Linked DNA regions of Homo sapiens: region 2 is linked to region 1. The links are contacts of gene promoters, found by promoter capture Hi-C in human tissues and cell types (Jung and others, 2019). All regions are on one chromosome and are shown on one strand. Each heading gives the region's core, a stretch centred on a gene start or on the middle of the fragment in contact. The rest is flanking DNA. Distances are from core to core; before and after follow the strand shown. Region 1 holds the start of RGSL1 (regulator of G protein signaling like 1). Region 2 overlaps RGSL1 (regulator of G protein signaling like 1).

The links. Contacts are between HindIII fragments. The study calls those that stand out against the background at their distance.
Region 2: a contact is called between a fragment that was not itself captured here and the fragment with the promoter of RGSL1 in region 1, in 1 of the 25 tissues and cell types used here (H1 embryonic stem cells).

The regions. Positions count from the first base shown.
Region 1 is chr1:182,446,579-182,453,045 of GRCh38, forward strand. RGSL1 (regulator of G protein signaling like 1) reads left to right here and starts at 3,568. Exons shown (of 22, transcript NM_001137669.2): 1 at 3,568-3,600. The coding sequence starts at 3,588. RefSeq lists an enhancer at 3,406-4,013. The HindIII fragment of the contact is 7,176 bases long and covers 177-6,467 here.
Region 2 is chr1:182,489,551-182,495,871 of GRCh38, forward strand. It overlaps RGSL1 (regulator of G protein signaling like 1), which reads left to right. Exons shown (of 22, transcript NM_001137669.2): 9 at 3,472-3,579. Among named protein-coding and RNA genes, the nearest start is that of RGSL1, 43 kb to the left of the region's middle. The HindIII fragment of the contact is 9,571 bases long and covers 1-6,105 here.

The DNA of each region.
Region 1 (6,467 bases), core at 2,318-4,817:
GTAAGGACATGGATATCCTGTCCTGGACTCAGCAATCAGATCCTCCACCCAGAACTTTTATGTATATATATTTATATTTATAAATTTATATTTAATTATATATAATGCATATTCAATTTTAAAATTAAATATAGATATATACATTCACTTTTAAAATTTAAATATGATATGTACATTTAATTTTTAAAATTAAATATATGATATATATGTCATATACATTTAATTTTTAAAATTAAATATATATATGACATATACATTTAATTTTTAAAATTAAATATATGATATATATGACATATACATTTAATTTTTAAAATTAAATATATGATATATATGACATATACATTTAATTTTTAAAATTAAATATATGATATATACATTTAATTTTTAAAATTAAATATATGATATATACATTTATTTTTTAAATTAAATATGTGATATATACATTTAATCTTTAAAATTAAATATATGATATATACATTTAATCTTTAAAATTAAATATATGATATATACATTTAATCTTTAAAATTAAATATATGATATATACATTTAATCTTTAAAATTAAATATATGATATATACATTTAATCTTTAAAATTAAATATATGATATATACATTTAATCTTTAAAATTAAATATATGATATATACATTTAATCTTTAAAATTAAATATATGATATATAATTAAATATAGAATATATACACATTTAATTTTAAAAATCATTTTTTAATAGAGGTAGGGTCTTACTATGTTGCCCAGGCTGGTCTCAAACTCCTGGACTCAAGCGATCCACCTGCCACAGCCTCCCAAAATGCTGGGATTACAGGCATGAGTTACCATGACCAGCCCAAAACTTTTCATCTTGAAGGAAGACTCAGAAGCTCAGGAGCAATGAGAGGTTATGCATGGCAGTGCCTATGACAACAAACACTCAATAGCGGTGGTGCTAGCAGTAGTGGCACAATGGGGACAACCACAAATGCTGAAAAAGATGTGTTGTAGTTGAAATTGGTTCTTATTTCTACTGGAGGTCGTGTTAACCATCAAAAACAAAATAAGCGTAGTTATCATAATAGGCAGTTGAGCCTGTGTGGATATCTGAATGATCTAACCCACAGATTCTTTATAGTGGTTATTGATCATGGGGTCCTTAAAAAATGTGTGTTCATTCAATAAGATTCTACTGGAAAGTATAAGCTCTGTGATGGCAAGGATTTTAGACTGTTTATTCAGTGTTGCATCACAAACACCTAGAACAGTTTGTGTCACATAGACCTGCCCAATAAATATTTGTTGAGTGAATGAACAGGAGCCTAAAATGAGCCATCATGGTAGAAAATCAGGTCCCTCATCCAATTTTCAGCCCTGAGTCAGACCTAGAAGCTCTGAAATTTAAAAAAAAAAAAAAAAGCATTTTACCAGTTAGGAAGAATCTTGTAATATTTTGCAAGTATTTACGGTGAATATTCTTCTTAATCTTTGCCAAAGAGACCTGCTGTCATTTCCAGGGTAACTGTGCACTTGGGAAAAGGAGATGCCCAGAGTTTTGCAAACCAGATCAGATCTAGTAAATGTCAGATCTGAGATGTGAATGCAGCTCTATTTCATTTAGAAACCAATTTATTTGTTTGTTTGTTTGTTTGTTTGTTTGTTTGTTTGTTTTTGAGACAGAGTCTCATTCTGTTGCCCGGGCTGGGGTGGAATGGCACGATCTCAGCTCACTGCAAAATCTGCCTCCCAGATTCAAGCAATTCTTGTGCCTCAGACTTCTGAGTAGCTGGGATTACAGGTGCGCAACACCACATCTGGATAATTTTTTTGTATTTTTAGTAGAGAAGGGGTTTCCCCATGTTGGCCAGTCTGGTCTCTAACTCCTGTCCTCAAGTGATCCACCCACCTTGGCCTCCCAAAGTGCTGGGATTACAGACGTGAGCCACTGCATCTGGCCCCAATATTTTCTATATTTACCTGATGATAATAATTATCTGGGGGCACTTGGAAAATATACAGACTCCTGAGCCCCACCCCTTCTAAATCAGAATTGCCAGGGGACGGTCCCGGCAATTTAGGTTTTTAACAACAACCCTGTCAATAAGGTAATTCTTATTACCACACATTTGGGAGACATCTGGTGCCCTTTTCTTTTGGGAACTAGAAGGTCATGAAAGGGTCAGGGATCTAACCATTATGCATTTCAAGATTTAGCCAGTGATACTGGCTTTTCATCTTTACTGTTTTTAGAGTGACCCTATTTGGTTGTTAATGGCTCCAACAGTCAGCCTTTTTGAACTGTGGGAAAGACGGTGGGGCAGCAATTAGGACTCAAGGGTAGGTGCACACAGCTTGATTGAAAACAGTCTGAAAGCATTCCATCTTAAGGAATGTGAGCATATATTACTACTGTATATGCCATTATTTTAGGAGGAGACCTTGACTCTATTTATTTTGCAAAAGAGGTGATAATTCAAGGAATAATATGATATTGTAGAATCATGCAGTGCTTCACACTGAACTCTCTTAAGATGTGTGCATGTTAAACTGACTAATTAATAAGGTGAATAAGGTAATTGATAACAGATTGAAGAAGTATGGTAAGCTACAATCTCATCTTGCAATACATAGAACATCAAGATGTAAAGCAAGAATCTCTTCTCACTAAAATCACTTTAAAATGCAGTATTTGGTCTTTATATATTCTAAAGAAAGTACAGCACTTTTTCAAATGTAAGTGATATTGTATTGACGATTCATTATTAACAATAATCCTTCCAGTTTTCAGTTTTCCCTCCACCCCCCATAGGAAAGCCTTTTGGACATTATATAAGCTTCCCTACAATCCCAAGACTTAAAAGCCCTCTCTGGGTGTGACACTGAAGAATTCTATTCTCAGTAATTCTTGGCTAAAGTTTGAAGGATTATAGGGCTTTTGGTCTCTCATCTTAATATTTACTTCCTATTAGGGAAGAACAGGAGAAATGAAGAGTTGTTTAATGAGAAAACCAAGAGCCTGAAGAGTCTTCAGAGGAAGGGAGTTCAAACCTCTTGGAAGCTGATGTTTTAATTTTAATTTTTTAAAGATGAGGTTTCACTCTGTTGCCCAAGCTGAAGTTCAGTGGTGTGATCACAGCTCACAGCAGCCTTGAATTCCTGGGCTGAAGCAATGGAGGTTGATGTTTTAAATGGGCAGAATATCCAGGAGTTACTGCTTATTAAAATTACATCAAATGTAACCGTTTACAAGACCCTTAGGAGCTGAGTTTAGCAATGCAAAAGTCACCCTAGCATGGGAGAGGTTGGAGCAGACAAGAGATCTTGGGCACAATTATAAAGAACTTGTCAAATAAAATAGTATGAACTAAAGGCTTAAGTATAGGAGGAGTCTTGTATGTCCAAGGGGATTCAGCAGATTAGGTAAGATAAAGACTTATCTTCAGATTAAGGCCTACACCAGAGGTAAGTAGATCACTGCCAGATAGAATCTGGAACCCCTTAGAGAAGGTGTCATTACGTGTTCACAATGGATATAGTTCTATTGACTGGGGGGTAATTCTGCCCCTAACAAATTACTGTGTCAGGAAGAGCATGGCAACATGAGCAGTGCTGGTGAGTCTCTGCCAGGGATGTCTCCAAGGCCTTGAGTCTCTCAAATAAGGCAAACCATTCATCTTCCCAATTGTTAATAGATCTGAGCCATTCAGGGGCACCATGGGTGACTTTTGTGTTATTCATGCCTTTGTTTTCCTTCTCTTTCTCCTTCTTCCCCTTCCTCCTACCTTCTGCCACCAGATCTTTGAGGATAGTACAGGGCCTTATTCATAAGACAACTAAGGCAAGAGGGAGGAAGTAAAATGTGGATTGGGCCACCTCTCCTCCAGAGAGAAGACTGGTATGGGGTTTGAGATTATGCAGTGATTTCATTTGTTGCCAAGTCAATATTATTATGGCGTGGAATGGGTGCTAAAAGCCTTCTCAAATTATTAGGAAGTTTGAAGGCAGAACAGGTAAGAAGGAAAAACAAGAATGGAGAAATGAGAGGATGAGGAAGGGAAGGATGTACAGAGCCTTGTCTCTATATCTCCTTAAGACTGTTTTGGCAATGGCAAGCCCTAGCATAGTCAGGCCCCTTGCCACCAGCGGTGTGTGTAGCTGTGAACAACAATCACTAGGGAATTTCTGCCAAACCCCACTTTTCTGTATTCAGATGGGCTCAGTAATATACTCATTCAACAAATCCATGTTAGACTCTATGAATGATAAACAAACAAAAGTCCAAAAGATTGAAAATCATTGGCTGGGAGCGTTGGCTCACCCTTGTAATCCTAGTACTTTGGGAGGCTGAGGCAGGTGGATTACCTGAGGTCAGGAGTTCAAGACCAGCCTGGCCAACATGGTAAAACCCCATCTCTACTGAAAATACAGAAATTAGCCAGGTGTGGTGGCATGCACTGTAATCCCAGCTACTGGAGAGGTTGAGACACAAGAATCACTTGAATCTGGGAGGCAGAGTCTGCAGTGAGTTGAGATCTTGCCACTGCATTCCAGCCTGGGTGACGGAGTGAGACTTTGGCAAAAAAAAAAAAAAAAAAAGATTGAAGATTATCTTTTGAAAGAACAATTTATTCCACATTTACAGAACTTAGACATTGTGCAAACACTTTTAGAGCCTAGAGGAAGAAAGGTGAAAAAACAAAGTCCCTCCTCTCACACGCTCAGTCTGATGAGGAAGACAGATATATCGATGGATAAAAACAGTCAGACTTGTTAATTGTAATAATGGAGGATATACGTGATGGTATAGGGAGATAGTGATGAATTCTACCATTGCAGTAGATTCTACCTTTCTTGGCTCACCAAGATTATATGTAAACCAGTTCTTAATGGATGACTATTAATTTGTGAGCTGACTGTGCTTAAGAAAACATTTGAAGCAATGGGAATATGGGAACAAAGACATGGAGGTTTCAAGTGAGAGTACCTAGCACATGCAGGAAACAGCAATGCCTTGGCTTAGCTTGCAAACAGGAGGCAGAGTGCGCAGAGAGGCAGGAAATGAGACTGGGAGGAAACTCAAAAGCCAGATGGGGTAAAGCCTCAGATACTATACTAGAGAGTTTGGACTTTACCTTCTAGGACATCAAGGAGATTTTGAAAGACTTTAACAATAATAATATCAACAGATTATGGTGGCAGTACGTGTAGGGTGGTTGGAAGGGCAAGAGGTGGGAGCTAGGGAGACCATTTAAGAAGCTGATGCAGAAGTCTAGGTGAGAGAGCATAGAGGCCTGTAATGGAAGAGTAACTTTATGGATGGAAAGGAGAAGACAGATTCCAGAGATAGGTACAAAGAGAAACCATACAGCATGATCCCCCATTGCATGTAGGGACATGGAGGGGAGAGAGAGAGAACAAGAGAGTAAGAGCAAGAGTAAGAGAGATTGAGAGTGAGAGTGAGAGTGAGAGACAGGGACAGAGACAGAGAGAAGAGCCTCAGTTTTCAGGATTAGATAATTTATTGAATGATAATTCCAGTAACTGGGACTGGGAATGTAGGAAAAGGAGCAGGTTGGGAGGCCTGGACACATTGAACATGTTGAGATGAAAGTGCCTGATGGATATGCATGTAGAGCTGGCCCATAGCTCATGTATATTTAAAACCAGAGTGAAGGAGAGAAGCCTGGACTGAAAACACAGATTTTGGAATCACCCATATGGAATAGATTAAATAAATCAAGGACTGCTTATAAAAAGAAGAGCAGAGGGCTTGGGAGGGGTACACATAAAACACACATAGCACTTGACAGCAAGAAAAAAGATGTATGTGAACAGAGGGCAAGTGCTGATACCAGCTCTGTCACTCACAATAGTGTTTATCTGGGTTTCCTTTTTTTTTTTTTTGAGACAGAGTCTCACTCTGTCACTCAGGCTGGAGTGCAGTGGTGCGATCTCGGCTCACTGCAACCTCCACCTCCTGGCTTCAAGCGATTCTCCTGCCTCAGCCTCCCAAGTAGTTGGGATTACAGGCTCCCGCCACTATGCCTGGCTAATTTTTGTATTTTTAGTAGAGACAGGGTTTCATCATGTTGGTCAGCCTGGTCTTGAGCTCCTGGCCTCAAGCAATCCACCAGCCTCAGCCTCCCAAAGTGTTGGGATTATAGGCATGAGCCACCATGCCTGGCCAGGAGTTTCTAATTCTATTTCTAATATATGAAGCCAACAACCACCAGTGTCATCAGGAAAAATGATTGTTTAGTTTTCTTATATCATAACTACATGTTTGTGACTGTGCATGGCACTTACTGTCCTCATCAGATGCTTAGGTTGAGAGATGAGCTTAGGGCATAGTATTCGGACCCATTTTTCAGTCTTTCATTATGAACTTTGGGTATGACTGAGTGATGGTGGGCCATTGATAAAACAATTAGTTTATTATTCACTAGCTGAATATTGTGCTCTAAGGAGCATAGACAGTA
Region 2 (6,321 bases), core at 70-2,569, 41 kb after region 1:
GCATGTTCCACCTCACCACATTTCCTCCAGAATAGGGTCCAAGCGCATTTCTGTGAACATATTTTACAGTCACCCGCTTCCCTAACATAACACACCAGCCCACCCAGGCAGTGGAGAGACATCGTTAGGAGCAAAAGGCTTTGCTGTCCCAGAAGTCTGGGGTTACACCCGTGCTCTCCTATTCACTTGTATGCTTGAGCAATGTATTTAACTTCTCTTTGAGCCCCAGTTTTCTCATCTGTAAAATGGGAATAATAACAAACTTGTGCAGGTGACCTGAGATCATCTATGAAAGCTATTAGTACAATGTTTGACAATCACTTAAGAGTTCAATACTGTAAATGTTAGTCATTATTATTCAAATTGAGCATAGTGCTTTAATTATCTATGTTGAGGCAGTTGGAATACTGCATATTTCTCAAACTTTGATCCACAATAAATACGTTTGACTTCATAATTCCTTAAATATATACCTGTGTATATGTGTGCACATATATATGAAAAAAAATTTCCAAAGCAATACTTGCCCTTATTACATAAGATGCTGTACTCCAGCATTCTTTATTCTATTATGTTTCATGTCATATAAAAGCTAACAATGTCACCATTTATTTTTTGGCATACTAGTGAGTCATGACCTACACTTTGAAAAACATGGATAAAGAGTGAGCAAAAGCTTTGAAAATTCAGTTATACCATTCATATGCACTGTGAGCTTGGGCAAGTTACTCCTTCTCTCTGAACCTAATTTCTTCATCTATTTAGTGGAGATAATGGCCCCTAATTTGTTCAGGATTAGAGGTAATGTATTTACATAGTAAGCAGGTGCTAAGTAAATGGTACTTGTTAGATTACCAAAAGAATGTAACATCCGGCTCTTTTTTAAAACTTTAATATGCACTCTGTATACAAACCAAGATGCCCTGGATGCCTGTCTGTCAGAGCCATGTTTGGGCATAAGTTATTTAAATCTAGCATGAACAGGCCCTCTTTTTTAACCATAGAGATTCCACTCTCTCTCTAAATCCTGAGGATCTTAGATTCTTTCCCAGGAATCAAGACCAAAGTAGATGAAAAGATGGCTGGTAAGTTTCACCACACATATGTTGGGCAATAGGCGTTACTTTGGTGGCTATGGGACACAAGGGATAGCCAGTAAGAATGTGAACCACCCTCCATGGAAGCTCCTTGTCCCTCTCCAAAGCACATATCATTACTTCCTCTATCACTGCTTTTTTGGAGCACAAGTCTGGCCTAATAAAGGGCCTTCTTTGCATTTGGCCAAATCAGAGCCTTGAATCTCAGGTAGGTTGGTGTCTCAAGCTGTACCCTAAACTCACAGAGTACCAGAGCTAGAACATTATCTTTTTTTTTTTTTTTTTTGAGATGGAGTGTGGTGGAACAATCACAGCTCACTGCAGCCATGACTTCCCAGACTCAAGCGAAGCTCCCACCTCAGCCTCCTAAGTTGGTGGGACTACAGGCATGCACCACCACACCCAGCTAATTTTTTTTTTTTGTAGAGATGGGTCTTGCCATGTTGCCCAGGCTAGGCTTGAACTCCTGGGCTGAAGCCATCCTCCTGTCTTGGCTTCCCAAAATGCTGGGATTAAAGGTGTGAGTGACCATGCCTAGCCTACGTATGGTACTTTTAAAAAACTGTAATTATTATTATTATTATTTGAGATGGAGTCTCGCTTTGTCTCCCAGGCTGGAGTGCAGTGGCACTGTCTTGACTCACTGCAACCTCCACCTCCCAGGTTCATGCAATTCTCCTGCCTCAGCCTCCAGAGTAGCTGGGATTACAGGCACCCGCCACCATGCCCTGCTAATTTTTGTATTTTATTAGAGACAGGGTTTCACTATGTTGGCCAGGCTGGTCTCGAGCTCCTGACCTCAAGTGATCCGCCTGTCTCAGCCTCCCAAAGTGCTGGGATTACAGGTGTGAGCCACCACACCCGACCACTATCATCTTTTATACAGGGAAACATGACTTCCAGAATGGTGAAAAGACTTGCCCAAGGTTGCTCAGCAAGGAAGGAATTGATACAGGACTAGAAACCTGGACCCACTGCAGAAATAACCCACTGCTCTTAACACTTTTGGTCAAGATTCTCCTTGATTACACATCATGGTGATGATGATGATGATGATGACTCACATTCACAGGTCCACACCCCAGTACTCTTTATAGACTCAAATAGTATAGCTTCAGAAAGTACTGAACTGCCTAGAGAGTTCCAGGAGAACTCTGTGCATTTAGATATACTCTAAATCCCAGAACTCACAACCCAAATGAATACTTCTCCTCCGTAGGAAGTAAGGTGCTACTATTCTGCTTCTGTTAACCAGATCATTGTTAAAACATCTCTTGCTATCTCAGCCTCATTGTCTCACCACATTTTGGATACAAAAAGGTATTCCCTCTCAATTCATCATGCATAACTTAAGATGATATATGGCTCTTTCTAGAAAAAAAATCCACTCCAAAGGACAATGATTTGCAACTATTGATAATATTCAGATAGGTAAGTTAATTCTGAAAGTAATTCCCAAAGTCAGAGCTGAGAAAGGGAAAACATAGCATAGCATGTTCTTTGCCATTTGTTATTCTTAGGGGCTTCAATTTTTTTTGAAGCAATAGTAGAATGTTTGAAATGCATTTGTAGTTGTGGTCTCATGCCCGCACTTCGGGAGGCCAAGGCGGGAGTATCGCTAGAATCTAGGAGTTCAAGACCAGCCTGGGCAACATGGCAAAAACCCGTCTCTGCAAAAGAACACATACATTTGCTACTCAATCCCTCAACAGATGGATGCTTTGAAGGAGTCACCATTCATTTGTATGAGTTACTTCTCATATATGAATTAAAAAATAGTAGCTCTTTCAAGTCATATCTTGGTTACCCTAGCAACCCTCAGGCAAATAATCTCCATGGGTCAGTTTTCCCTAAGAAGGAGAGGATCTTCTCATTCTGGAGGGAAGAGGAGGCTTATTTCCTTGCCTATAATTTAGCTTAGGGAACTTGTATTATTTCTGTAAACATCCCATTAAAACACTATTGGCCTCTTTAAATAACCTTTTTTTTTTTTTTGAGATGGATTCTCCCTCTGTGGCCCAGGCTGGATGGAGTGCAGTGGCCCAATCTCGGCTCACTACAAGCTCCGCCTCCCAGGTTCACACCATTCTCCTGCCTCAGCCTCCCAAGTAGCTGGGACCACAGGCGCCCGCCACCATACCCGGCTAATTTTTTTGTATTTTTAGTAGAGACAGGGTTTCACCATGTTAGTCAGGATGGTCTCAATCTCCTGACTTTGTGATCCACCCATCTCAGCCTCCCAAAGTGCTGGGATTACAAACGTGAGCCACTGCGCCCAGCATTTTAAAGGCAATACCTTCAACAAAAGTATATGAATCTTTGAACCCAGACTTTGGACAACTAAACTCTATCTCTGTTTTTCCTTACTTCACAGACATAACTAAAATGTCCTTTGAGGAGCTTTGCTACAAGAACCCAAAGATGGCCATACAGAAGATCAGTGATGACTACAAAATATACTGTGAGAAAGCACCTAAAATAGGCAAGTGTTTAAAATCAGGGATAGACGAGGCAACTAGGTTTTTTCAAATCTAAGAGAAAATCTGTAATCTTGTGTTCTTTAAGGAACATAAGCCAAAAGAGGAACCATGCTCTGTTGGAAATGGAGAGGTGGTTAGGGGGTAATGACTATGTCTTTTTTCTCCTACGAAACCACAGAAGAGCATCATGAAAATAAGATGTAATCATAAATGAATGAAGTGATGATGGTTAAGATTGTTCATTTCTACTTTCTTATCTAGTTATCACTCTGGGGTTTTAATTAATGTGAATTCTTCTTCTGTCAAGTTACCTGGAGGCTGAGATTTGTGAAGGGATGTTTGTTAAGGAGTGCTCTTGGGAATAATACCTCTAAGAGAGTGAGGAAGGCAGGATTGGGGAGAGGTAGATGCTGAACTGTGAAGCAATCACAACAGGCCTCAGCAGATGCCATAAGAAACTCTGATGCCAGGGTGGCCCTTCAGAGTTGTCCCTCAGTGAGGTAAGAAATTTAATTTGGGCTTTAGTTCTTCCACATTGATCCACGGGAGATGTGAATGCCCCTGTGAAGGATATAACCTAGGGTTTATAGCCAGGCAGTTTCCTTTGGCTGAAGCAACTTCCAGAAGGGGCCTCCTCTCTGGGCCATCAGCAGCCAACACTCAGGCATCTAGGGGAATGAGTGCTTTGGCCCTGAAGGGAGGTTCTGGGTAGTACCCAGTACCACCCACTACTGTCCATTTGCTTTGTATAGAAATTTCACCTCATCTTGGAGTAGCTCCTCCAGGAATCTGATAGTTTCTTGTCCTGGGAAACGTATTTGAGAAAGGCAGGCTCACATTACTCTACCTTATCTGAAGACCATTGCTAATATTCCTCTTCTTCCTCTCCTGCTCCCCATCCTAGATTCCTCTCATGCTCAGCTAGCACCTCTGCTGGTCTTGGGGTCTTACTAGACTCTCATCTCTGGGATACCTGAGCCCCCGGTCATCACGACTTCTCAGGCTGTGGCTGCTTCACTTGTCAACCTATCATACAAATTGGGCCAGGGAATACCAAGAGTGGCAAGTGAATTGTCCAGTATCTGCTATGTAACATGATCTTAATGATTAGGATCAATTACCCTATCAGTACAGTGACTCCTTTGCTTGCCTGCTGACTTCTTGGCATAAGGAGCTTAATGCGATTGAACAGCTACTATTTCCTCTAGTAGAAGCATTCTGCCTCCAGGAACTAAGATCTCTAGACTGGCACTGTCCATTACAGGAGCCACTAGCCCCATGTGGCCACTGAGCACTTGAAATGTGACTGGTACATGTGGGTAAATAAAACACATTGTTAAAATTAATTTCACCCTTTTCTTTTTAGCTTTTTCAATGTGACTACTAGAAAATTTTAAATTATATACGTGGCTCACATTATATTTTTATTGGACAGCACTGGTCTAGACCTACAGAACCTAAAGGTATAAAGATGACAAATTTCCCTAAGTAAGTCTCTGATACTGATGGTAAATGGAACACTTCTTTCATTCATTGGTACCTGGGCCCATTTATTCTACTACTGAAGACACACCTTATAATGGTCTTTGAATTATCCTGGAAGATGATGCCTCATTTTCCTGAGGTATCGTCATTCTCCCCTAGCATTCTGGTAGCTTCAAGCTGCTTTCACAGCTGTGCCTTCAAAAAGTGGCTCCATCACTTCATCAAGCCAGCAGCTCTCAAAGGAAATAGAACTAGTAGATCTCATCTTCGTGGGACCCATTGGCCATTGCCACACCTTCTTTGCTATAAAGTGTATCCCTTGGTCAGAGGCAATGTTATGTGAGATCCCATTGAGGGATCAATCACTTATAAGCCCCGAGGTGGTGATGCTGTCTGAGACCTTGCAGCTAAGATACATATCAGTTCCAGTCAAAATGAATTGCTGCTCTTTCCAGAATAGAAGGTGTTCAGTGTAATCAGTTTGTCACTAAGTGGCTGGCTTTTATTAGGGATGTTACTATACTGGGTACTGGGGGCTCTGCATTTGTTTCTGTTGCCAGCAACTTGAGTGTTTGGCACTCAAACATGGGGCACATGCTGTTGGTCTGTACATAGCCTCCATCCCTGCCACCTAGAACTCTGTCCATGAGCTCACTGTGCCAGCACTACAGTGGCTTATGACAGAGACTTGCTGGCATCAACTGGCAGAGTGTCATTCTGTCTGCTTGGTTGTTTAGTGCCTCTTTCATGGTAGTTGTTTTTTGGAGGGCTTTAAGATGCAATACAAAGATCTCCACATGTCATGTTTTTTCTCATAGATCCATCCACATGTGTATATTCTCAGACCATTTTGTCCCCAGTATTCTAATCTTTCTCCTTCTAAGCCCCTGGCTTACCAGCCAAACCATTCATCACTGCCCATGAGTATGTATATATTCTTATCCTGGGCTACTTCTCTTTCCACACAAACGAATGCACAGGTTCGCCGCCAAAGTTCTGCTTATGGCGTTGCAGGGGATTTTTCTCTCCCCATCATCTTTCAGGATCACCACTGATAGAGGGCTTCAGCTGTTTATTTTCACCAAGATATTGAGATGGTCCATTCATGAAACAGGTTCAGCTTTTTTCCTCTTCTGTCAGCTGGTCATCAATGTGACCAGCCATAGATGTGATGACAGTGAAGTGGCAGTGCCACAGTGGTAATGACATGGGTGTCTGGGTCACCTGCTTAGGTAGTTTCTTGTACCTTCTGACCTGCC